7 separate regions of the Homo sapiens genome follow, and regions 1, 2, 3, 5, 6 and 7 are each linked to region 4. Evidence: promoter capture Hi-C in 16 types of primary human blood cells and fetal thymus (Javierre and others, 2016). All regions are on one chromosome and are shown on one strand. Each heading gives the region's core, a stretch centred on a gene start or on the middle of the fragment in contact. The rest is flanking DNA. Distances are from core to core; before and after follow the strand shown.

Region 1 (3,013 bases), core at 423-2,922, about 29 Mb after region 4:
AAACCACATTAGGTATTTCAACAGGGAATTTTTTTTTTTTTTTTTTTTTTTTGGAGAGGGAATTTCACACTGTTCCCCAGGCTGGAGTGCAGAGATGCAGTCCTGGCTCACAGCAACCTCTGCCTCCTGGGTTCAAGAGATTCTCCTGCCTCAGCCTCCCCAGTAGCTGAGATTATAGGCACCTGCCCCCACACCAGCTAATTTTTGTATTTTTAGTAGAGATGCGGTTTCACCATGTTGGCCACACTGGTCTTAAACTCCTGACCTCAGGTGATCCGCCAACTTTGGCTTCCCAAAGTGCTGGGATTACAGGCATGAACCACCATGCCCAGCCTCAACAGGGAGTTTAATTAGGAAGGAAATACCCAACGCCTCCCCTTTGTACCCTATAATGCTGGTGCCTTTCACTGGCCAATTCCAACCAGAAGTTGAAAGGTAAGGGAGCTGAACTGCATTATCTGTAGGATGCAGAGAAAAGCGGATAATAGATCTGGGAGGGCCTTTCATGGTGGCTCACACCTGTAATCCCAGCACTTTGGGAGGCTAAGGCGGGTGGATGGCTTGAGCCTAGGAGTTGAAGACCAGCCTGGGCAACATGGTGAAACCCCATCTCTACAAAAAATTGGCTGGGCATGGTGGTGCCTGACTGTAGCCCTGGCTAGCAGGGAGGCTGAGGTGGGAGGTTTACCTGAGCCTGGGAAGTTGAGGCTCCAGTGAGCCATGATCCTGCCACTTCACTACAGCCTGGGTGACACAGTGAGACCCTGTCTCAAAAAATAAAAATAAAACTAAAGATAGATCTGGGAGCCAAACAGAGTAAGAAACACATTGTTTACCATGTAAACAGGGTCTATATAGAAGTAGGGCCAGGAGCTGTGGCCCACATCTGTAATCCCAGCACTTTGGGAGGCTGAGGCAGGAAGATTGCTTAAAGCTATGAGCTTGAGACCAGCCTGGGCAACAAAGCGAGACCCAATCTCTATAAAAAATAAAAAGGCTGGGCATGGTGCCTCCCGCCTATAATCCCAGCACTTTGGGAGGCCAAGGTGGGAGGATTGTTTGAGCCCAGGAGTTTTGAGACCAGCCCGGGCAACATAGAGAGACCCGTCTCTATTAAAAATAAAGAAAGGAAATTAGCCTGGTGTGCTGGTACACACCTGTGGTCCCAGCTGCACAGGAAGGTGAGGTGGGAGGATCCCATGAGCCCAAGACTTCGAGGCAGCAGTGAGCTATGATAGCGCCACTTCACTCCAGCCTGGGCAACAGAGTGAGACCCCATCTCTTAAAAAAAATTATTTTTTAATAAAAATAAAGTCAGTGAAACCTCAGCTGAAATTGCAATAAAATTTCAATTTCGGCCTTATTTGACATCCATTTTCATTTACTTGAGAAGTTATCTATGCCATGTATTGTGTATCTCAGTAGATGTGACATACTAACAGTAAGAGCAATTGCATTGTACGCTCTTCTCTAACAACACTGACTGCAGAGACATGTAGTGTATTTTTTTCATCATCTGTTGAATTACAAAGCATGGAGACAGATGAAACATGATTCTATTGATTATATGAGTAGAACTCTCACATAATCTGGTTGTCTACTTTTCTGGGTGGTGGTGTTTGTTTGTTTGTTTGTTTGTTTTTGAGATGGAGTCTCGCTCTGTTGCCAGGCTGGAGTGCTGTGGCGCGATCTCGGCTCACTGCAACCTCTGACTCCCTGGTTCAAACAATTCTCCTGCTTCAGCCTCCTGAGTAGCTGGGATTACAGGCACGTGCCGCCACGCCCAGATAATTTTTGAATTTGTTAGTAGAGACAGAGTTTTACCATGTTGGCCAGGCTGGTCTCAGTCTCCTGAACTCATGATCCGCCCACCTCAGCCTCACACCCGGCTTTTTTTTTTTTTTGAGATGGAGTCTCACTTTGTCACCCAGGCTGGAATGCAGTGGCACAGTCTTGGCTCATGGCAACCTCCGCCTCCAGGGTTCAAGCAATTCTCCTGCCTCAGCCTCCTGAGTAGCTGGGATTACAGGCGCCCACCACTAGGCCCAGCTAATATTTTGTGTTGTTTTTGTTTTTGTTTTGAGACAAGAGTCTCTGTCTCTTGCCCAAGCTGGAGTGCAATGGTGCGATCTCGACTCACTGCAACCTCTGCCTCCCAGTTTCAAGCAATTCTCCTGCCTCAGCCTCCCGAGTAGCTGGGATTACAGATGCCCATCACTGTACCCAGCTAAATTTGTATTTTTAGTAGAGACGGGGTTTCGCCATGTTGGCCAGGCTGGTTTCGAACTCCTGACCTCAGGTGATCTGCCTGTCTCAGCCTCCCAAAGTGTTGGGATTACAGGCGTGAGCCACTGCACCTGGCCTAATATTTTGTATTTTTAGTAGAGATGGGGTTTCACCATGTTGGCCAGGCTGGCCTTTAACTCCTGACCTCATGATTCGCCCACCCCAGCCTTCCAAAGTGCTGGGATTACAGGCGTGAGCCACTGCACCCGGCCCATTTTTGTTTGTTGTTTGAAGTATGCGAGTATAATTAAAGGAATATTGATGGTAGAAATGGGAGAAGAAGTTTGTCACATAAATCATGTAAGAGTTCCTGTTGGGATAACAATAAAAGATTTATATTCCATAATTAACCTAAATAATTTTTATTTTTTTTAAATTAGGTTGTTGCTTGTGAACTTGACCCAAGGCTAGTAGCTGAACTTCACAAAAGAGTTCAGGGCACGTGAGTATACATAATAGAATTAAAGTGCATTTCAATCTCATGAAACAACATTCTTTTTACATTTCTTCTTTTCTCATCAGGCCTGTGGCCAGCAAACTTCAAGTACTGGTGGGTGATGTGCTGAAAACAGATTTGCCATTCTTTGATACTTGTGTGGCAAATTTGCCTTATCAGGTATGTCCTCACATTTTCAGGAACATCATACTAACTGTTCCTCTGATGTGTCTTTCCCGGAAATAACTAGTTAATTCTCTTACAGATCTCTTCACCTTTTGTCTTCAAGCT
Region 2 (3,155 bases), core at 559-3,058, about 26 Mb after region 4:
GGTTCAACACTATTTAAATAGTCATTTGATGCCTACTTTTCTTATTTTTGGTGTTTACAATTATTGCTATATTTTGCTACCTCATGTATTTCACATATATGTACACACATATATATACACATACAAATACGCACACATACATACATACATATGAATCATCTTTATTTAAAACTCAATGCCCACTATTGAACAGATTTCTACATTTTAAATGGCTTTTAGCCAGATACTACTGATTAAGGTCAGGATGAGGACTATTTACTCTGTGGACAGATGCTTTCCACTTTCAACCCTTGAAGAAGAATTGAAATAACTGTATTCTTGGACGTTCTCAGTCTGATTCATGCCTCCTTTTAGCCAACTATTCATAGATTCACCAGAAGAATTACACCTACTACCTCCGGCGTAGGAAGAAAAAAAAAAATCAAATGGGCAATAATGTTAGCAGAAGCTTGATATTTAAGAGCTGGTATTCAGAAAGATCATCCTTCCTACCCCCTTCCCTCCGGTCCAGTTCTCCTTTCTGGTTCTCACCATCGGAAATTGACTTGGCATTAACTAAGGGCTGGAATTTCAAGGCGTCAATTTTCCCCTGCCCCCAACCTCGGAAACTCTTAAACAGCTCCCTATTCTACACTCAATGGTAGAGACAGATAAATGATGCAGCAGATTACACCGTTGAAAGGCAACATTTGTCCTGAGCTATTTTCACATTTTTTCCTGTTTCCGATGTATGTGCCAGACTTTGTTTGCTTGCTTAGGACATGGAAAACACTGGGCATTTTCTCCCCAGCGGCTTTCATTCTCAGCAAATGAAAGTGAAAGTGCTACATTGTAGCGGTATTTTATCCTTAAAGTCTGGACTGGCAGCTTGTGTGTAGGGGGGAGGGAGGGTGGGATTGGGAAGGTTGAAGAACCAGTTTTGAGGTTTTGTTTGTTTATCTTGAGATCGCAGCAGGGTTCCTGTTTTTTTCCCTTCCTTTTTTTTTTTGGTGGTGGGGTCCTACTTCGGATTTATTTTCATTTGGGCAGTCATTGAAGTTTCATTCAATGGACTGACTTAAAAAAATACACTCCACTTGTGGCTTTTCCCGGTTGCACTTTAAAACACCATCCAGTCTCACCCTCATCTGGAAATAATGCAAGCTTCTCTCTTCCTTCCCCCGCTCCCTCCTCCCCTACTTTTTTTTTTTCTTCTTCTTCTTCTTTTAAAGCTCCACATAACCTGAAGTCGATAATCAAATGGAAAATGTGCTGGTATTAGTTTACTTTAGTTTACTTTCCCTTTTGGTGCTAACCTTACTTGCTGAAGTATGTATAAAACACAGGCATTTTGTACACTTGTAGCTACTGAGTCTTGTGCCTGCTGCACGAATCTAAGCTTTAAGTTTCCTCAGAGGCACTGTTTGCGTGCAAGTTTTAACATTTTGATTGTGTGGATTTTAAAAATAAAATTACACGGAGAATGACACCAGAGATCTTAACAGTGACATTAGTCCATCTAAAGTCATTCATCCTTCTCCCTCCCCCTTCATTTTTCCAAGAAACAACTAATAGCAAACCAGGCTAGAATTTCTAAGAGAGTTTAGAGGAGGAGGAGGAAAAGAGGCGGAATGAGATAGGACAGAGAGGTTAGAGAGGCCAGAATTTCTCTCATTCACAGTGTGGAAAAGTTGACATTGTCTAAGCCCTTCTGAATGGCTGGTAGTTGGTTACCCCGATTGTACCTCTACCTCCCCTCCCCCTCCACGTGACGACCCAGGACACATGCGCACCCGACGCAGCCCAGGCACATCTGCAGACTGACGTCAGTGTGCTCTGCCTCCGAGGAAAAGCTGCCAAAATTTTCTCCTGCTGCAATTCAAGTTGGCTGGGGGCCGGTAGTGAGATCTAGGGCTACTTCAACAAAACTTTGCTGCCCTTCCTGCTCCTCTTGTCTTCTTTTCTCCTGATACCTTTTGATGCTCTGCACATGTTATTTGCATAGCAAAGGCACTAAGCTTTCCAGGAAGAGAGGGCACCACTTCCACCCCCAATAAGTCTTTTTTCCCGTCTTTTCTTTCTTTTCCTTTCCTTTTTTGGGGGGTGGGGAGGGAGAGAAAGGGGGTTTGCAAAGGCAGCATCTCAGAGTGATAGCCTAGATGTATTGAAGGCATCTCTTATTCTGCCAAATCGGAAAGTCAGTTCTCTAAAGCCCGGGTTAGCCAGACCATAGGGTTTTATTCTGGCTGCAGAATAACTGGCTGGTGTGGCTTTGCAAAGGGGGGCAAAAAATAAAAAAATAAAAAAAATTAAAAAAAGTTAGAGAGGAGAGGGAGTACGTGAGTCGTCCAGTGCAATCTCTATTGTCTGAAACTTACTTTTTATCAGAATTTGAAGATGAAAACGGTAAGGAAGACTTAACAATATTCAATGGAGCTTTTTTTTTTTAAACCAACAACTTGTGCTTTGCTTGTCTTCCGAATAACGCTTAGAAAACTTTTTTTCTGTGTGTGTGTTTTTTTTTTTTTTTTTAATGGCAATGAGTGAGCTTGACTGAACTCATTTTACAAATAGATATCTTTTTAACTCCAGACTTGTCGGGGGTTGTAGAATTCTGGGACTTGCAGTTATTTTATGATGCAAAAAAAATACGTTTATTTTATGAATATACAATACATGTTTTGTGAAGTGGACTTGATTATGATTATTGTAATCTTTTAACTGATCACCAAATAGTAATCCGGAAGGTAATAATGATGTGTGTGTTTTAAATTGATTTCCAGTTTTCTTACAGAAAAGTCTTATGCATTTTGTAGTTTCATGTCAGTGTCGTTAAGTCTTCAGACAAGTGCATATTTTATGCCTGGGCTCAGAGGGTAGCATTAATGTGCTAGCTGTAGCCCCGATGCTCTAGGACATGTTAAGCTCTTAATAGGCTAATCAAAGAGATGGAAACGTGTGTTTTTGATTTACTTTTGGCCACTTGGGACGTGCTAGACTCATAACCCTCCGGAGCCTTGTTTATCGGGGTAGGTCTGTATATATGGTGTATGGGACCAAAGTTCAGGGATTGAGGAGGGAGAGTGAGAGTGCAGGAATGGGGTATTGGGAAGCCTCTTTCTGATAATATGTGCTACAATTCCTGTCTTTGATGCTTTCTTTCCCTGTACTAGAGG
Region 3 (2,952 bases), core at 364-2,863, about 26 Mb after region 4:
GTACAAGACCGATTCTCGAGTGATTTTAGAATGGGTGGAGTACAAAGTAAGGGGTTGGGAGAGGAAGGTAATGGAAGATGCACTAAGAAGGTAAGGAGAGATCACATCATAAAGGGCTTTATATGCCATGTGAGGGAGTTTGGGCTTTAATGAAAATAATGAGCTGGGCGCCGTGGCTCATGCCTGTAATCCCAGCACTTTTGAGAGGCCGAGGCAGGCAGATTACGAGGTCAAGAAATCAAGACCATCCTGGCCAACATGGTGAAACCCCGTCCCTACTAAAAATACAAAAATTAGCTGGGCGTGCGCCTGTAGCCCCAGCTACTCGGGAGGCTGAGGCAGGAGAATCGCTTGAACCCCGGAGACGGAGGTTGCGGTGAGCCGAGATAGCGCCACTGCATGCGCTCCAGCCTGGGCGACAGAGCGAGACTCCGTCTCAAAAAAAAAAAAAAAAAAAAAAAAGAGAGAGAAAATAATGACAAATCATTGAAGTTTTTTAAGGGAAGGTGCTAAAGTACGATTTGAGCTTAGACCACATTTAAAATGTCTTAAATACTTAAGGAAAACATTTCACAGAAAAACAAGATAACAAAACAACAAAGACAAGAAAACTTAATCTACCCCTTTTCCCACCCCTTTTATTTGATAATAATTTGTGATTATTCCTCGTTAGTGACAAAAAGACTCAGCCCATCGTATCAAGAGCGTGATTTCAAAACCACAGACTTCGGGTTTTGGATGAAAACAAATCTGTGATCTAGGAAGCTTACGTCATTTTCCCTAGATGCGAAAATTTATTAGTGGAAGTGTCAGAGTTGAAATTATCTTTACCTACCATGATTCGAAATAAGCACCGCCTTCCTCTCGCGCCCCAACACATTAATACATTAACACCACTCCTGAACTAAAGCCTTAAAGAGAACTGGTACCCTTTTGCATACCTAAATAAGAGTTCGAAATTCCAACTTCATGTGGCTGCTGTGGGGAGTAAATGAGAGGAGCCAAACACATAAGAATAGGAAAATGTTAGTTTTAGCATCTGTCATAACAAATCAATGATCAAAAGTGTTAGATATTATCAAAAAGACGTTGTACTACGCTTAAATCACTATTTCGTTAAGACATGCAAGTATGGAGTAGCCAGAAGTGAGAGGACGGCCCTCTGTTCTGAGGGCACAAAACTCCACACATCATCCCTCTTCGGATCTGGCTTGAACCCTCCTACTCAGCGGACGCAGCACTCCAATTCGTCCCGGTACTATGTCTGCAGCTACCTTTCCTCTTCTTGGCCAGTGTTGCCTCCACAGGTAAAGGTCCAACCCAGCGCTCTTCGTTCTCCTCATCGTTCTCCTGGGACACCGCCACTGCTACTGCCAGCTCTCTTTCGCTGAGTTCTGTTTTTTCCGGTTCCTCCGGGTCCCGGCGCCTTCTACGTCTCTGCTGAAAATCGCTACCACTTTCCGCCGCCATGTTGTTCGCATCGTCAGAAAAGGCGCGACACAAAACTCAGCTACCAATCCCAAAGCAGCGGCGCAGTCTTCTGTCAGCGTCCGAGCGAGTTTCGGGATTGGCTGGGGTGGGAATGAGCACATCCAATGGGCATGCAGCGCGCGCAGAAGTCCGGGGCTGGCAAGCGCTTCCTGCGCAGCGCCTAGGCGACCTGGAGTTTGTGACGCTGTGATGGTAAGACCTGGGCCGGGGAGGTTGATATAACGGTTGAATCTTGTGGAGCTCCAGTCCTGAAGGTGAAACCCTTATCGCCGGCCAACTAGATACCTGACTTCCCAGCCGGGCTTTGAGTCCCGTTCTTCTCGGCTTCCCGCGCGCCAACGCAAGCTCCATAACCTCACCAATATTTAGAGAAAGATGGAAGGGTGGGGACAGAAGGAAGTGGTTAACTCGCGGGTTTCCTTTCAGATGCACTAAACATGTTTTCTCTCCTGACCTTTATTCTCTCACACACTCTCTGAAGAAGGTGGTGAGTGCTTGTTACTGTTTCTGGGGGTGGGGTGGAGAAGCAGCTACTTCAAATAACCAAAAGACCTAGGGCAGAACGGGTCACTCTTCTTTCTTCTCTCTGGTATAGGATTTCATCTCCTAGCAGTCATCTGAACTCTTTCTCCTCCTCCTCATCTGTCTTCTTCATTTTTAAAAAATTAGGTAAAAAGCACATAACATAAAATGTATTATCTTAATCTCTTTTTTAAAAAATCAAATACAGCTTGTCAAAATGACCTCCGTAAAACACTTCTTTTTTCTCTGCAATTACTTTTGCACCAACCTAATAAAATCCTCGTCGTAAATCTCTTCTCTACTTTTGCCTTGAGATAGGCACCACGTACAGGGAAGGAACTGCCCCCCCATAGTAGGCACTTTATTTTATTTCAAAGGTTCCCATTATTTGACCATTCTACCTAGCAAGTCTCATTTCTTCTCTGCCCTCTGCTCTCATCAGACTACTTTCTTTTGTGTCTCACAAATTTCCCTTGTTCGTTCTTGCCTCCTACTCTTATGTTTTTATGCTTGAAAGCATCTCCACAGCGATTTAGCCTTCATGTTTACAGCTTCTCATCTTTCAGAGACCAATGCAATAATGAGGATGAAGATGATAATGATAATGATAATAATAATGTAGCTAGTTAACATTTATTAAGCATTATTATGGACTAATTCCTTCCGGGTTGGTTTTTCTAAGCTTCCCTATCCTGAATTCCGATAGTACTTGCAGGCAGTGTTGTATACTTTACCATTTCATAGCACTTCTGACTACCTGAAATCATATCATGTATTTAGTTATCCATTCATTTATATTGTCTGCATGAGAATGGAAGCTCTACAAGTACAAAGACTTTTTCATCTACACAGCTAAAGCCAGTGTCTGACCAATGGCACACATTAACATATTTGTTGAATAAATGAATGTATTTTAGAATTATGTGGGTATTTTTTGCT
Region 4 (3,221 bases), core at 559-3,058:
AAGCTGTCATTCTAGGAAATTCACCACTTCTACCACTAGGTGGAGAAAAAACACAAGTAGTATCTGTAATCAAAGCTAGTACAAGGCCCCAGGTACTTTACCTAGAATTTCCACCAGGTGTCAACCAAGAGGTAGGGAAAAGATAAGACTGTTTTTCCCACTTAAATATGCAAATTTATAATTTTATGCATAGCGATCTAAACTCTGAAATAAATGGCCTGCTCATTAATTGTCTAGTTTGCATATTTATACTCTTTATATATTGCTGTTGAGTCCAAGATATTGCCTTGTCAACTAAAATCCAACCCCCAAAAGCTTAGTTTCTTTTGAAATAAAACAGCAAGACCAATAAGTTTAGTTTATTGTGACTCATAGGCTCAACCTATCCATATACACTACGCAAAAGAATCTAAAACGTTTAGACACGGACAGCCAAAAATCTTCCAAGGTATTTTTGGTCATACATATATATATAGAGAGAGCACCAGATTCATATTTTTTCTTTCTACATTTCTCTTGTAAGGCAGTTCTGTTGATTGCCAGTAATCTAGATGAGTTTATGCTGTTATGCTCTGAATCCCAGTGTGATGTGACGAAAGCACTGCTATTTTTTACCAAACATTCACAATAAAAAGAGAAATGTACCTATATTTAAGATGTATCATGAGAATTACTACGTTAAATGGTCCAAGGCTCTCGGCCGAAAATTAAAGCTTCACACAGTTAAATCCCTATTTATATACCAAATCATGCTTTTTAAAAACAATTTTATGCGCTTCACTAATTTCTAACAAAGATTTTCCGATTCTGTTGCAAACAATATGTCAGCTAAACCACTATGTCATATGCCTTTTATAAGGTAGTACTTTTTTAGGCCGAACTCTATTCTTATTCCTCTGGACACAGGAGTTGTAATCATGTCTTACTCTGCAAATCTAGCCGTAGGTGGTGTCTTAAAAGGACTTTTTCTTCCTTCGAGGAAGTGATCAAGCTTCCCCCAGCCCCCACCCGTGTCATCCTGGAAACAACTTGGTTGTTTTTCGGTGCTAATTAAGCAATGTAGGAGAAAGAAGTTGAGGAGACAGCAAAGCCTATTGATTACATTGTACTTGCTTCTCTACCTCGCTCTTCAAAGGATTAAGGTTCCTTTGACCTCGACTGAGTTCATTTCCAACCTGCCTACAAAGTACTGGTTTAAAAAAAAAAAATCCAAGCAAAGTATGCTCTTGTCTATGAACAATATTTCTTGTCCGGTTTTATTACGTTTTCTTTGGAAATTCGTTAGATTATGCTCAACAATCGGCCGCTTGCCCAACCGGTTTCTCCCTTCCCCCATCTCTCTTCACACATCACTTTTTCCTCCTCCCATCCAGGCAGTTGGTAAAACGCTGCAGTGCCGGTAACGCACGCTTCGGGCTGGTCGCTGCAGTTTATCCTAACTTGGCTTTGCAAACTCCCCACCCAGCCCTTGTACCCTCGCACCCCACTCTGCCATTATCTTTCTAGTAGAGTGCGCTCGGTAACGGGCTCCAGATAGCACGTCGAGGGTATACGGTAGCCTGCCTACCAATAGGAGCCCACAATGAAGAGAAGTCAGGTTCAGCCGGCCAGCAGCTCCAGTATCTCCTTCCCCTAGCTCTACACCTACTGTACCCGGGAGCGAGCGGGCAAGGGAGCGAGCGCGGCGCGGCGCGGCGCGGGAGGGGGCGCGCAGGGAGGGCGGACAGCAGCCGCGGCCTGCGCCTGCGCACTGGGGTTGTTTTTCACAAAGCTGCTCTTAAAGTGAGCTGGCAGCTTTTAGCCGCCCGTCTTTGTAAGGAGACCACTGAGACGAGCGGGAGCGCGGAGCAGCAGCCTCTGCTGCCCTGACTTTTTAAGAAATCTCAATGAACTATTTGTAGAGAATCACTGATCCGGCCTGCAAGCATTTTGCACGGCAAAAATATCGATCAGTGTTAAGTGAAGATCACATTTTATATGCGATCTTGACTTTTTTGTCTTACATTATATTTTTATAGATTTTGTTATAAACATGGTGCTGGGAAAGGTGAAGAGTTTGACAATAAGCTTTGACTGTCTTAATGACAGCAATGTCCCTGTGTATTCTAGTGGGGATACCGTCTCAGGAAGGGTAAATTTAGAAGTTACTGGGGAAATCAGAGTAAAATCTCTTAAAATTCATGCAAGAGGACATGCGAAAGTACGCTGGACTGAATCTAGAAACGCCGGCTCCAATACTGCCTATACACAGAATTACACTGAAGAAGTAGAGTATTTCAACCATAAAGACATCTTAATTGGGCACGAAAGAGGTAAGTTTTTGTTATTCATAAGTCATTGGACTCATTTTCTTTGGAAACGTACCTTTTCAGTTTTCTGAATTAACGTGATTCTACTCCTAGCATAACTAAGCAGTTTGAGAAAGGTTAGCAAAGTTGGAAGGTTTGGATTCTCCTTGACGTTCATCGTGTGTTAAGCCGTAATGCATGCAGGCATCTGCAAAGTGACTGCAAACTACACTTATTCAGCTACCTCTGTACCCGGCTCGGTCTGTGCCACACGCACTTGTAGTCCATTTGCACCTTACTTATAAATTCTGTTTGAATCCAATTCAGTCGTTTTACTAATATATTTTCAAATGAATTGGTAAAAGCTGCAGTCTTAGATTTTTGCCCTTTTACTTGCAACCTAAGATGTAAAAACTGAACTTCGATCAAGAAATGTAATAACATTTTTAAGAGACTTAATGGGTGTGTTTCATTTTTAATATTGGAATGCAAAAGACTTTAAATAATTGATGACTGTTCTTTCATAAAAGATTTCTGTGGCTTATTTTGACATATGGTATCAACACCCCACGTGTTTTTTCTCTATTCTTTACCATTCCTTTAAAAATTTACACCCAGCATTCCTTATTTTAAAGGAATGACTATCTGTCATTATGATAGGTATCGAGTCAGGTTTAGAAGCCATTTAGGATCAGTAATTTTCTTTTCCGAGCATCATGTCTAACTTTGGAACGTGCATTCAATGAAACCCATGCCAGTCAAATGGAATTGAAAAGTATAGGGCACACTGGATTTGATTTTTGGTTAGAAGAGAGAGATAAAGGGTTGTCAAAAGGAGAAGGAGTCCTGAGATTTCCAATCTATTGTTTAAATGGTTACATTGTGGAAATATAGGAGACTCTAGGCTTGTTTTTCTAAGTTTCCACCCTTTGT
Region 5 (3,195 bases), core at 64-2,563, about 26 Mb after region 4:
ACTAGCAAAAAACGACAGGCTGAAATATGGTCACCAATCACCACATTAACTCTTTGTAATTAACCACTGTCGCCTGCCTGCTCCCTAACTCTACGGACTGAGCAACACAAAGCTCCATCCACACAGACGAGTGGCAATGTGCAAAAGGGAACTGTAGAAAGCTTAAATGCTGACATGTTACAAAGTAGTTTTGTTGATAGCTAGCAAGAAGCACACATTTTCTTTATTCTGTTGAATCTTCATTTGGATTTACAGTTCTGGGCAGATTTGGAAACGGGGATGGTGGCGGCATTGTTTCCGAAAACCAGCGCATCCGTGCAAAGAATTTAATTCCCTCACCATCTTGCTACTGGTCTGTTGCAGTGGGGTGTGGTTAGAGGGCTAGGAAGCAATCCAAAACAGCAGCTCAGGCTGCCCAAAGCCGTGTCCAAGCGATCATTTTCTCCATTTTGGGCCAAGTCAATTTGCACCGGCAAGAGGCAGAATGTTTGTTTTATGGGGAGGAGGAAAATAAAAAAGGAAGTCAGAGAGCATGGACGGAAACAAGCAACACCACCAAAGAGGTTTCATCTCGGGTGGATGTTAAACGATTGGAATGCTAATAATGGGCGCGAGGAGCAAACACAATTGTTCTGAGTCCACAGCTGCGGCACTTTTAATGACAGGTCTGTAGTTCTGCATTGGGATTGAACGTGAAATGATTTTCTTATCCAAACTATTTGCATTCATTTTGGGCCGCGTCTGTGACCAGCCTCGCTGACTGCGGCTGAGGCAGTCCCAAACAAAGAGGAATGGACGTCCTCCCGAGGGAGCGGAGGCGGGAAAGGTGGCCCCAGGTGGCCGCGCCAGGTGTCCCCCAGGGGTCCACCTTGCAAGCCGCGGGGAGGGTGCGTCCCGGGAGCGTCGGAGAGGCGCGGTCGGGAAGGGGTGGGTCCGGGCTCCAGGCACCACACGGCGAAAGACCCCGCCCTGCCCACGGCCAAGGTTAACCCGCGCGCTGGAGGTACCTGCGGAGGCTTCGCACAGCCAAAAGGCACCGGGCGATCATGGGAGCGCTGAGAGGCTGGCGGCGGCGGGCGCGTGGTCCTTCGGCGTGGGGCGGCGAGGCGGGCGGCAGCGCCTGGGCGCCCGGGAGTCTCGAGCCGGCCTAGCCGCAGAGGCCACAGTGGCTGCCTGGCCAGCGCCCTCCCACGTGCGGCAGCTCCACGCCGGCGCCTACCAGCCCCGCCCCGCGCCGTGCCCCGCCCCAGCTCGCGTGTCTGGCCCCGCCCCAGCCCTCGCGTCCGGCCCCGCCCCAGGGGCGGTGCTGGCCAGACCCTGCCGCCTGAGAGAGAGCACAGCCTGGTGGGTTCTGGGGTCTACGGCCTAGGGGCCGGGGAAGTTTGCGCCGCCGCGACCAGTGCTGCGATCCCGAGCCGGGCTCCAGCCCCGAGGACCAGGGGTCGGGCGGGCCTGCCTACGGAACCCCGCGGGCCAGCAGCAGTCGTCTCGCGTCCTCCTGCTTGGTAAGGGGCTTCTGTCTGGCAAGGGTGCGCCTCCCGCCGCTCCGGACCGGGGCCCGCACCGGCACCCGCTGCACACCGGGCAGGGCCGAGGCGAGGCCGGGTACCTGAGGGAGGACGGAAGGGAGGGGGAGCTCGATGCGCTCTGGGGAGAGGAAGGGGGAGAAGCCTATTTCCCTCTTCTCACCCCTTTTCCCCCCATTCTGTTTTTACCTTCTGCCCTGGGGCCTTATTTAGTGCTTATGACCCCGTGGCCTAGAGGCTGACATCGCCTTTAAAATAACTACACAAATAATAAACATTATAGCGGCGGGTACCACACCCTGGCTTTGAATTAGGGAACCTGGGGAGCAGATGGATGATGCGATTTGGTGGAAATCAGCCATGAATGCCGCCTGGCCCTGCGCCACTGTTTGGATGCGATAGTATTCCATGTGAATGAACATGACCGGGAGCTTCCAGCTTGTCCACGAGAGCACAGCCTCTGCAGGGAGCGCCGGTCGGCTTGTAGTATCCATCGACTTGGGCAGCGATTTCCTGACATGTCTGCTGATTAAATAGAAATGCCATTTTTATTAAGAACGACACTCACCACTTGAATAACCTTTCGCGAATGTGTTTCCTCATCAAATAACTCTCAACCTACAAAAGTGGGTAGAGTGTACATTATTAATACTTTTTTTAGATCCCATGAAAAAGAGGAAGATGCTTGGTATACATCAGCTTTTAGTCAGCAGTATGAAATGCCTCTTAACTTAGTACTGAGGCCTTTAGGGGATTTCTGTATGGTGAGATATGCAGTGACAGTCTAAGCTTATGCTGTACATGTTTTGAAGACATTTTTACTTATTCCAAGATTTAACATACTCGTATACCACTGGGTATTAATGAAAATATGTAATAAATTACCTTCACAATACTTTGTGCTCTCCTGACTCTTTACAAAGAGAAAAGATGAAAGGTCATACAGTTTTGTGTTTTGTTTTTACCTTTAATACACTTTATAACCCATATCATCTTTGTAATTTATGACTTTCCTGACTGATTCTTTAAAATAACTTAGTTCAGTGTTTTCATTTTTCTTATCAAGGAAAAGTGTTTAAGCTTCTAAAATGTCATCTATCAAGCACCTGGTTTATGCAGTTATTCGTTTCTTACGGGAACAAAGTCAGATGGACACTTACACCTCGGATGAACAAGAAAGTTTGGAAGGTATGCATCTGCTCTTTGTGTTCATTTATATTATAATTATAAACGAAGACTAAAATAGCTGTAAGCCCAACTTGATGATCTATTGTAACATAATCAGAATTTTTTTTGATCTTTCAAGAGGAGAGGCCTGACTATAAGGTTATCGTATTTCCATTTTCTGAAGCTTGTTTTGTTTGTTTTAACAACAAATTAAGAGGACTATTGTTCATTTATTGAACAAATACTATATGTCAGAAGTATGCTGTTCATATTATAGGCAATTTTTTCTTCACAGCAACTGTTATGTTAGTATTATCCCCATTTAACAAGTGAGAAAATAAAACCAGGGCCAGGCTTGGTGGCTCATGCCTGTAATCCCAGCACTTTGGGAGGCCGAGGCAGGTAGGTCATTTGAGGTCAGGAGTTCAAGACCAGGCTGGGCAACATGGCAAAACCCTGTCTCTACTAAAAATACAAAAAGTAGCCAGGTGTGGTGGCACTT
Region 6 (3,112 bases), core at 24-2,523, about 24 Mb before region 4:
CATAACGTTATGGATTACATATGCTGAGGGTCAGACTGCCTACTGTAATATTCTATTTCTCCTAGTGGTACTAAGGAATTATGTGAGCTTAAGTTCCCTCAAACAAAGTGATTGAAGGTCCATTTTCAAAAATTCTGTTTTCTCATCAGGATTCATTATGGGCGTTATTTCCCAAACACATTTAAACTTTTTCATCCTAGTTTAATGCAACGTAGGTTTTAGCATCAAATTCCAGAGGTTTATCAACTACTATATGAAGAAGTAATTCTTTTCATTCATATATATAACCTTTTAAGCTTTAGTTCCCGATTTATTACTCAGAGCTCAAGAACCTGACCTCATTGACTTTACATTGCTCTTAGGGTTTACCATTCCTCGTAGCCTTTATGCTTTTTAGAGGCTACTTTAGAAAGAGAGTCAGTTTGACAGCCTCCAAAACTAATCACATTTTCTGAAATTTCAGTTTCCTCCGTGTGTGTTCTGAGGTGTAATTACGAGCTTGGTAATTTCCAGGGCCCACCAAAGTAAGGACGGAAGACTAGTCCGAGAGACTTCACGTGTGTGAGGGTAATACTGGTCCGCACCCAAATTTGAATTTTAGCTCCCATGATTCCCACATATTGTGGGAGGGACCTAGTGGGAGATAATTGAATCAAGAAGGCTGTTTCCCCCATGCTGCTCTGGTGGTAGTGAGTACGTCTCAGGAGAGCTGATTGTTTTATATGGGGTTTCCCTTTTTCCTTGGCTCTGATTTTCCTCTCTTGCCTGCTGCCATGTAAGACGTGCCTTTCCCCTTCTGGCTTGATTGTGAGGCCTCCCCAGCCACGTGGAACTCTGAGTGCATTAAATCTTTTTATCTTTATAAATTACCCAATCTCGGGTATGTCTTTATCAGCAGCGTGAAAACGCACTAATACACTTCCCTTCTGGGGTCTCTGAGATGGGACCGAAAGATTCCCTAAGGGAGCACCCCGAAAATCCGAGAGGAGAAGAGCCAGCGAGATCTCAGAACTCGAGCTGCCTCGGGCCGCTTCGATGGGCACAGATCCGCCCCCTCGCAGCGCCCCGCCCCCCAGCGCGTTGCACGCAGGCACGTCCTCCCAGTAGTTCAGGCCCCGCCCCCTCCCCGTCGCCCCACCCCGGCCGCGACGCCCCGCCCCGCGCCTAGGCTGTTGCTGGCCGCGGCCGCCGCCCTCCCCCGGCCCAATGGCGTGGCGGCACAGTCAGTGATGTGACGCTCAGGCTTGTCCGGCCCCCGGCTCGCAGCCCATTACACCATCCGTCGCAGCAGTCGCTGCAGCCGCTGCAGTCCGAGCCGACTAAGGGCGGGAGGCAGCTCGGGTGGCGGGGCGTGGCGAACAGCGCGGCCGGATTCATTCCTTTGGGGCGCGGAGCATGGAGGAGCTGTGCGGCCGCAGGCGGAGCAGGGCGGCCCGGGCGGCGGTGGGGACAACGGTTTCCCTTTGAAGGGGACGGACAAAGCCCGAGTGACCAGCGGCGGCGGGGAGGACTAGTCCCCGGGCAGGTAGTGGCGGCGGCAGCGGCCTGCCAGGGCTCGGGCCGGGGCCTGAGGTGCCCGCGGAAGGCCTGGGCGGGAAGGAGGGCGCCGGGGGAGCCGAAGGCGGGCAGCGGGCTGGAGGCCACAGCTTGGCCCATCGGGAGGGGGTTGTGGTCGATGGAGGAGATTGGGAGGGGGCTGCCGTTGTCTGGAACAGGGAGAGGGGAAGGTTGTGTTGGGGCGACTGTGGTTTGAGGAACCTGCGGATCATCCCTTGGCGGGGGGTGGGGGGTGATCGAAATGGGGCGGGCGAAGTTAATGACTAAAAGGCAGGCGGATTTCCTGAGAGCCGTGAGTAGTTTTAAAGGAAAGAGAATCTTTCGGGGCACAGTTTTGGCCTTAGCCGGGGTTTGGTGTGTCCGACCTTTTTGTTCTTTCTCGAAACCCGGCCTCAGGCCTTCCAGCCTGGCGCCCTTGGCCAGCTCTCCTGCAGTTGCAAGAAAGAGAAACATTTCTGAACCCGAGTCTCCTGCCTCTTTCGGTTGTACTCTCCCTGGGCGTGTGCAAAGCAAAACTAGAACAAAGCTTGGCTGGTTAGAGCTGGAGGCGAGAAAACGGGCTGCCTGTAGTGTTTAAATTTTCCGCACATGGAGGAGACTGCCTGCGACCAGAACATTTGGGTCTCTGTGTATCCTTCTGTATTTTTCTTTACCACCTTTTCTTTGGGGGTGGGGGGGGTGTGTGGGATGGAGTAGTGCCTGAAGTATAGCTTTTATTCCTTTCTTCCCACAGAAGTGGAAATTAAGAAGTGTTTTGCCTTCTTCTATAGAAAATTAAATGCTGCTACTTTTTTTTTCTTTCTCTAGTTTGGTGCCCTGGTTGTCAGATGTTGGAAAGCAGTAGGACGGAACATACTCTTCGTGGTTGTGTATCCGTTCTGGGGTGCAGCAATTAACATTGGACTTTGGTTCCTGTGACTCTTGCCTGTGTCGATAGAGTTAAACTGGAGCTCTGCTTTGAAAGATAAATAAAGCACAGCCTCTCAACTGGACATAAATGGATCTAAAGACAGCAGTATTTAACGCAGCTCGGGATGGCAAACTCCGGCTTCTCACCAAATTGTTGGCAAGCAAATCCAAAGAGGAGGTTTCCTCCTTGATCTCTGAAAAAACAAATGGGGCCACGCCACTCTTGATGGCCGCCAGGTATGGGCACCTTGACATGGTGGAATTCCTCCTAGAGCAATGCAGTGCCTCCATAGAAGTTGGGGGCTCCGTCAATTTTGATGGCGAAACCATTGAGGGGGCTCCCCCTTTATGGGCCGCTTCTGCAGCAGGACATCTGAAGGTGGTCCAGTCCTTGTTAAATCATGGAGCATCTGTCAACAACACGACTTTAACCAATTCAACTCCTCTTCGAGCTGCGTGTTTCGATGGCCATTTGGAAATAGTGAAGTACCTTGTAGAACACAAAGCTGATTTGGAAGTGTCAAACCGACATGGGCATACGTGCTTGATGATTTCATGTTACAAAGGACATAAAGAGATTGCTCAGTATTTACTTGAAAAGGGGGCAGATGTTAATAGAAAAAGTGTCAAAGGTGAGTTCAGCTTC
Region 7 (2,990 bases), core at 115-2,614, about 35 Mb before region 4:
TCTCTCCCGCCTAAAGCAGGCGTAGAATCTTCGCAAAACGTCACAGGGCCAAGACTGAGCGCGCCAAAGCGGGACCCACCCCCAGGAGACGCGGATGCTGCGGGAAGGTCCCTCCCCTTCCTCTCTCTGCCCGCGCGAAGCTCATTCATTCTAGAGGCGGGCTGCCAGTCCTCCCCGGCCGCCCATCCCGGCACTGCAAATCCGCTAGACGCTTTGTCTCGCGCCGGCCGGAAACTGGGGCGCGCACGCGAGCGCGCGCTCGCGCTCCAGCTCCCCGCACCTGGGGCCTGAGGGGCCGCCTCTCCGCGCCGGCTCCCCGGATTCGAGTGCGAAAGCGGGAGCTCCTTCTCGGCAGTCCCAGGCGCGCACTTACCACGTCCCAGCGGGTATCCAAAATCTAGAAATGGGCATCACGGCCCCCCAGCGCTACAGCTCGAGCCCCCTCCGCGACCCCTGCTCCGCTATGAACTCTAGATTCTTTCTCCTTTCCGGAGACCGAGACCCTGTTCCTTCAGAAGGACGCGTGCATCCTGGCCTCTGCTCCCTCCCCACGGCAGAACCCGGTGAGCTGGTCGCCGCGGTTGCGCCCCCGCCCCTCCTTGGCGCTAACGCGGCCGCCAGCTAGCACTCACTTGAGGAGCAGCTGGTCGTGTTCCGCCTTGCACTTGCCCAGCTCGATCTGCAGCTTGGCGCGCTCGCGGGCCGTGTCGTCGAGCGCGCGTCGCGCGTCGGCCAGCTCGGTCTCGTAGAGCGCCTTGAGGCCGGTGAGCTCACGGCCGCGCACCTCCTCGCGCTCCGTCACCTGCAGCTGCAGCGCGCTGTTCTCCGTCTCCAGGCTGCGCACCTTGTCGATGTACACCGCCAGCCGGTCATTGAGCTCGCGCAGCTCCTCCTTCTCCTGGAGCCGCGACAGGCGCGTGGGGCTCAGCGGCGTGGTGGGGCCGCCAGCGCGGCTGCCCATCCGCGGCGGCACGGGGGTCGCAGTCGCCATGGCGGGCGGCGGAGACAGCGGGGCGGCGAGGCCGCGAGCGGGACCGTGATAAGGAGGGGACGGCAGGGGGCGAAGCGGGGACCGAAGGCACAAACCGGCGACCTGCGCTCACGTCCAGACGCTGGCGTTTAGAGGAACGGAGAAGCACCTGGGATGGCGGGAGCTCGATTACAGCACAAAGGGCAAAGGCGCGCGGGGGGGAACTACGAATCAATCGATCGATCGCGAAATACCCTTTGTAAGAAAACACACACACCCACTCACACACGCACGCGGGAAAATGCAAGACGAGGGTGACTGGAGGCCCAGCAGGGTTCGCGCCGCCGCCGTCTCCTGCTCGCAGCACTTTGTTTCCTCTCAGGCTGCACGGAGCGGCGGGCGGGGGGAGGAGGGCCGGGAGGGGCGGGCTGGAGGCAAGCCGCGGGGGGCGGAGGTGGCGCGGGCCGCGGCGCCGCACTCCCCAACATGGCCGGCACGCCCCGGCGCCTCCACGTGACTACCATGGGCCAATGGGGAGCAGGCAGCGCGCTTCGGCGGTTCGGGGGCCGGGCCTGTAAATTTAAAATCTGGCCCTTGGGCAACCGTCAGCTCGGCCCTCCCGGCTGGGCGGTTCCCGGACCAGGCTCAGGGCTGTAAGGAAGGACGCCTGGGACTGCCCACCCGCGCGGCTCTGGGCCCAGGGCCCTCCCGCCGCCCCGCGGGGACCCCTTGGAGGGGCCGGGCCTGAGAAAGGCGGGAAGGAGCCCGGAGGTTTCCGGGACGGATCTGCGCCACCGCCCACACTCGGCGGTTCAGGGAAATTCAAATATAAACGTCCCTAAAAGCCACACGCGAAACTCAGAGTGTCCCCGGCCACCGCGGGCGTGGTAACCTTATCCCCCGCTCCGCTGGAGGGCTCGGGAAACGGCCTGGAGGCCGGGACGCTGTGGAATTACGTAATAGGCACTTGAGTCCGAGGTTCCAAATGCACGGCTTGCAGGTTCCAAGTACCAGCCTTTATTTTTCTCTCCGGTGGAAAACTGTATCAGGCAACTTCTTTCCATGAAAGTGAGATCTGTGCGTCTTGAAGCCGATAGATTATCACAGAAAAACCAGCAACCCTGATTTTAAATCATTTGCCAACAGTGTTAATGGGCGGTTCCTAATCCGTTTCTTAATTTAAGGGTTTGTAAAATCAAAAAACAGCTCAGAAATGATACGATTAACATATGACGGTGAGTAACTACGAGAGCAAGCTGTTTCATACTCCGTTAAAATCAGGTACATAAAAATCTGAACTTGTGAAAATTTAAGATGAAATAATTTTTTGCTTTTAAAAAGAGGCTCCCAAGATGTCACTGGCAGCTACTTCTATTAGAAAGCACATTCATCCCTTTGAAAAGTTCCTAATTTTTAGCTAACATTTATTGGGACTGAGTGCCAGCACCAGGCTTTTCATGGATTACCCATCCACACAATCTCCGTGTGATGTGGGAAACTGGATTGTTTCTATTTGAAAATTCATCCGGGCGGGCGCGGTGGCTCACGCCTATAATCCCAACACTTTGGGAGGCCGAGTGGGGGAGGATCACCTGAGCTCAGGAGTTCAAGACCAGCCTGACCAACATGGTGAAACCCCGTCTCTACAAAAATACAAAAATTAGCCGGGCATGATGGCGGGTGCCTGTAATCTCAGCTACTTGGAAGGCTGAGGTGGGAGAATCCCTTGAACCCGGAAAGGGGAAGTTGCAGTGAGCCGAGATGGCACCATTACACTCCAGCCTGGGTGACAGGGAGACCCCGTCTCAAAAAAGAAAGAAAGAAACCATCCATTTTATAGATTCACTGTCTGAAGGCTGCTCCGCAGGACTGCGTTTGACAGGTCCCAGGATTCTAATTGACTCGAGTCTGGCCCTTAGCTATACCCTAGATGACCACCTTACCACCTATTAGGAACGCTTCTGTAATTAATGGTTACTTACTTTTAAAATGGCAGAAATGGAGACCAGGATATTCTTTA

What was found. The method cuts DNA at HindIII sites, captures the fragments that hold promoters and counts their contacts. A CHiCAGO score of 5 or more calls a contact.
Region 1: a contact is called between a fragment that was not itself captured here and the fragment with the promoter of ARRDC3 in region 4, in 1 of 17 cell types (total CD4 T cells). The highest score is 7.3, in total CD4 T cells.
Region 2: the fragment with the promoter of ADAMTS6 here is called in contact with the fragment with the promoter of ARRDC3 in region 4 in 1 of 17 cell types (fetal thymus); the score reaches 11.7 in fetal thymus.
Region 3: a contact is called between the fragment with the promoter of CENPK here and the fragment with the promoter of ARRDC3 in region 4, in 1 of 17 cell types (total CD4 T cells). The highest score is 8.7, in total CD4 T cells.
Region 5: a contact is called between the fragment with the promoter of SGTB here and the fragment with the promoter of ARRDC3 in region 4, in 1 of 17 cell types (fetal thymus). The highest score is 7.1, in fetal thymus.
Region 6: a contact is called between the fragment with the promoter of FEM1C here and the fragment with the promoter of ARRDC3 in region 4, in 3 of 17 cell types (activated CD4 T cells, fetal thymus and naive CD8 T cells). The highest score is 10.6, in activated CD4 T cells.
Region 7: the fragment with the promoter of LMNB1 here is called in contact with the fragment with the promoter of ARRDC3 in region 4 in 2 of 17 cell types (non-activated CD4 T cells and fetal thymus); the score reaches 7.5 in non-activated CD4 T cells.

Annotation. Positions count from the first base shown.
Region 1 is chr5:62,398,535-62,401,547 of GRCh38, reverse strand. DIMT1 (DIM1 rRNA methyltransferase and ribosome maturation factor) reads left to right here. Exons shown (of 12, transcript NM_014473.4): 4 at 2,667-2,728; 5 at 2,809-2,902; 6 at 2,988-3,013. Among named protein-coding and RNA genes, the nearest start is that of DIMT1, 3.9 kb to the left of the region's middle. The HindIII fragment of the contact is 6,457 bases long and covers 1-3,013 here.
Region 2 is chr5:65,480,573-65,483,727 of GRCh38, reverse strand. ADAMTS6 (ADAM metallopeptidase with thrombospondin type 1 motif 6) reads left to right here and starts at 1,808. Exons shown (of 25, transcript NM_197941.4): 1 at 1,808-2,385. RefSeq lists enhancers at 1,606-1,655, 1,429-1,928, 1,696-2,055. The HindIII fragment of the contact is 619 bases long and covers 1,381-1,999 here.
Region 3 is chr5:65,561,829-65,564,780 of GRCh38, reverse strand. CENPK (centromere protein K) reads left to right here and starts at 1,613. Exons shown (of 11, transcript NM_022145.5): 1 at 1,613-1,683. PPWD1 (peptidylprolyl isomerase domain and WD repeat containing 1) reads right to left here and starts at 1,485. Exons shown (of 11, transcript NM_015342.4): 1 at 1,275-1,485. The coding sequence starts at 1,470. RefSeq lists enhancers at 1,036-1,696, 1,837-1,976, 1,697-2,358. The HindIII fragment of the contact is 1,930 bases long and covers 768-2,697 here.
Region 4 is chr5:91,381,904-91,385,124 of GRCh38, reverse strand. It overlaps ARRDC3 (arrestin domain containing 3), which reads left to right and starts at 1,808. Exons shown (of 8, transcript NM_020801.4): 1 at 1,808-2,312. The coding sequence starts at 2,033. All of the region lies in intron 1 of ARRDC3-AS1 (ARRDC3 antisense RNA 1), which reads right to left. RefSeq lists enhancers at 1,042-1,341, 1,221-1,738 and a silencer at 1,592-1,901. The HindIII fragment of the contact is 1,076 bases long and covers 994-2,069 here.
Region 5 is chr5:65,720,227-65,723,421 of GRCh38, reverse strand. It overlaps SGTB (small glutamine rich tetratricopeptide repeat co-chaperone beta), which reads left to right and starts at 1,313. Exons shown (of 11, transcript NM_019072.3): 1 at 1,313-1,505; 2 at 2,593-2,714. The coding sequence starts at 2,615. It overlaps NLN (neurolysin), which reads right to left and starts at 1,217. Exons shown (of 13, transcript NM_020726.5): 1 at 1,008-1,217. The coding sequence starts at 1,048. RefSeq lists enhancers at 1-32, 1-626 and silencers at 903-1,512, 1,583-1,632, 1,693-1,742. The HindIII fragment of the contact is 2,154 bases long and covers 164-2,317 here.
Region 6 is chr5:115,542,936-115,546,047 of GRCh38, reverse strand. FEM1C (fem-1 homolog C) reads left to right here and starts at 1,273. Exons shown (of 3, transcript NM_020177.3): 1 at 1,273-1,525; 2 at 2,365-3,098. The coding sequence starts at 2,555. RefSeq lists silencers at 983-1,322, 1,423-1,472, 1,523-1,692 and enhancers at 1,122-1,416, 958-1,724. The HindIII fragment of the contact is 1,787 bases long and covers 299-2,085 here.
Region 7 is chr5:126,775,510-126,778,499 of GRCh38, reverse strand. LMNB1 (lamin B1) reads right to left here and starts at 1,364. Exons shown (of 11, transcript NM_005573.4): 1 at 633-1,364. The coding sequence starts at 991. LMNB1-DT (LMNB1 divergent transcript) reads left to right here and starts at 2,014. Exons shown (of 4, transcript NR_134485.1): 1 at 2,014-2,205. RefSeq lists silencers at 278-387, 598-647, 958-1,037, 1,238-1,887, 2,538-2,587 and an enhancer at 803-1,603. The HindIII fragment of the contact is 4,360 bases long and covers 1-2,990 here.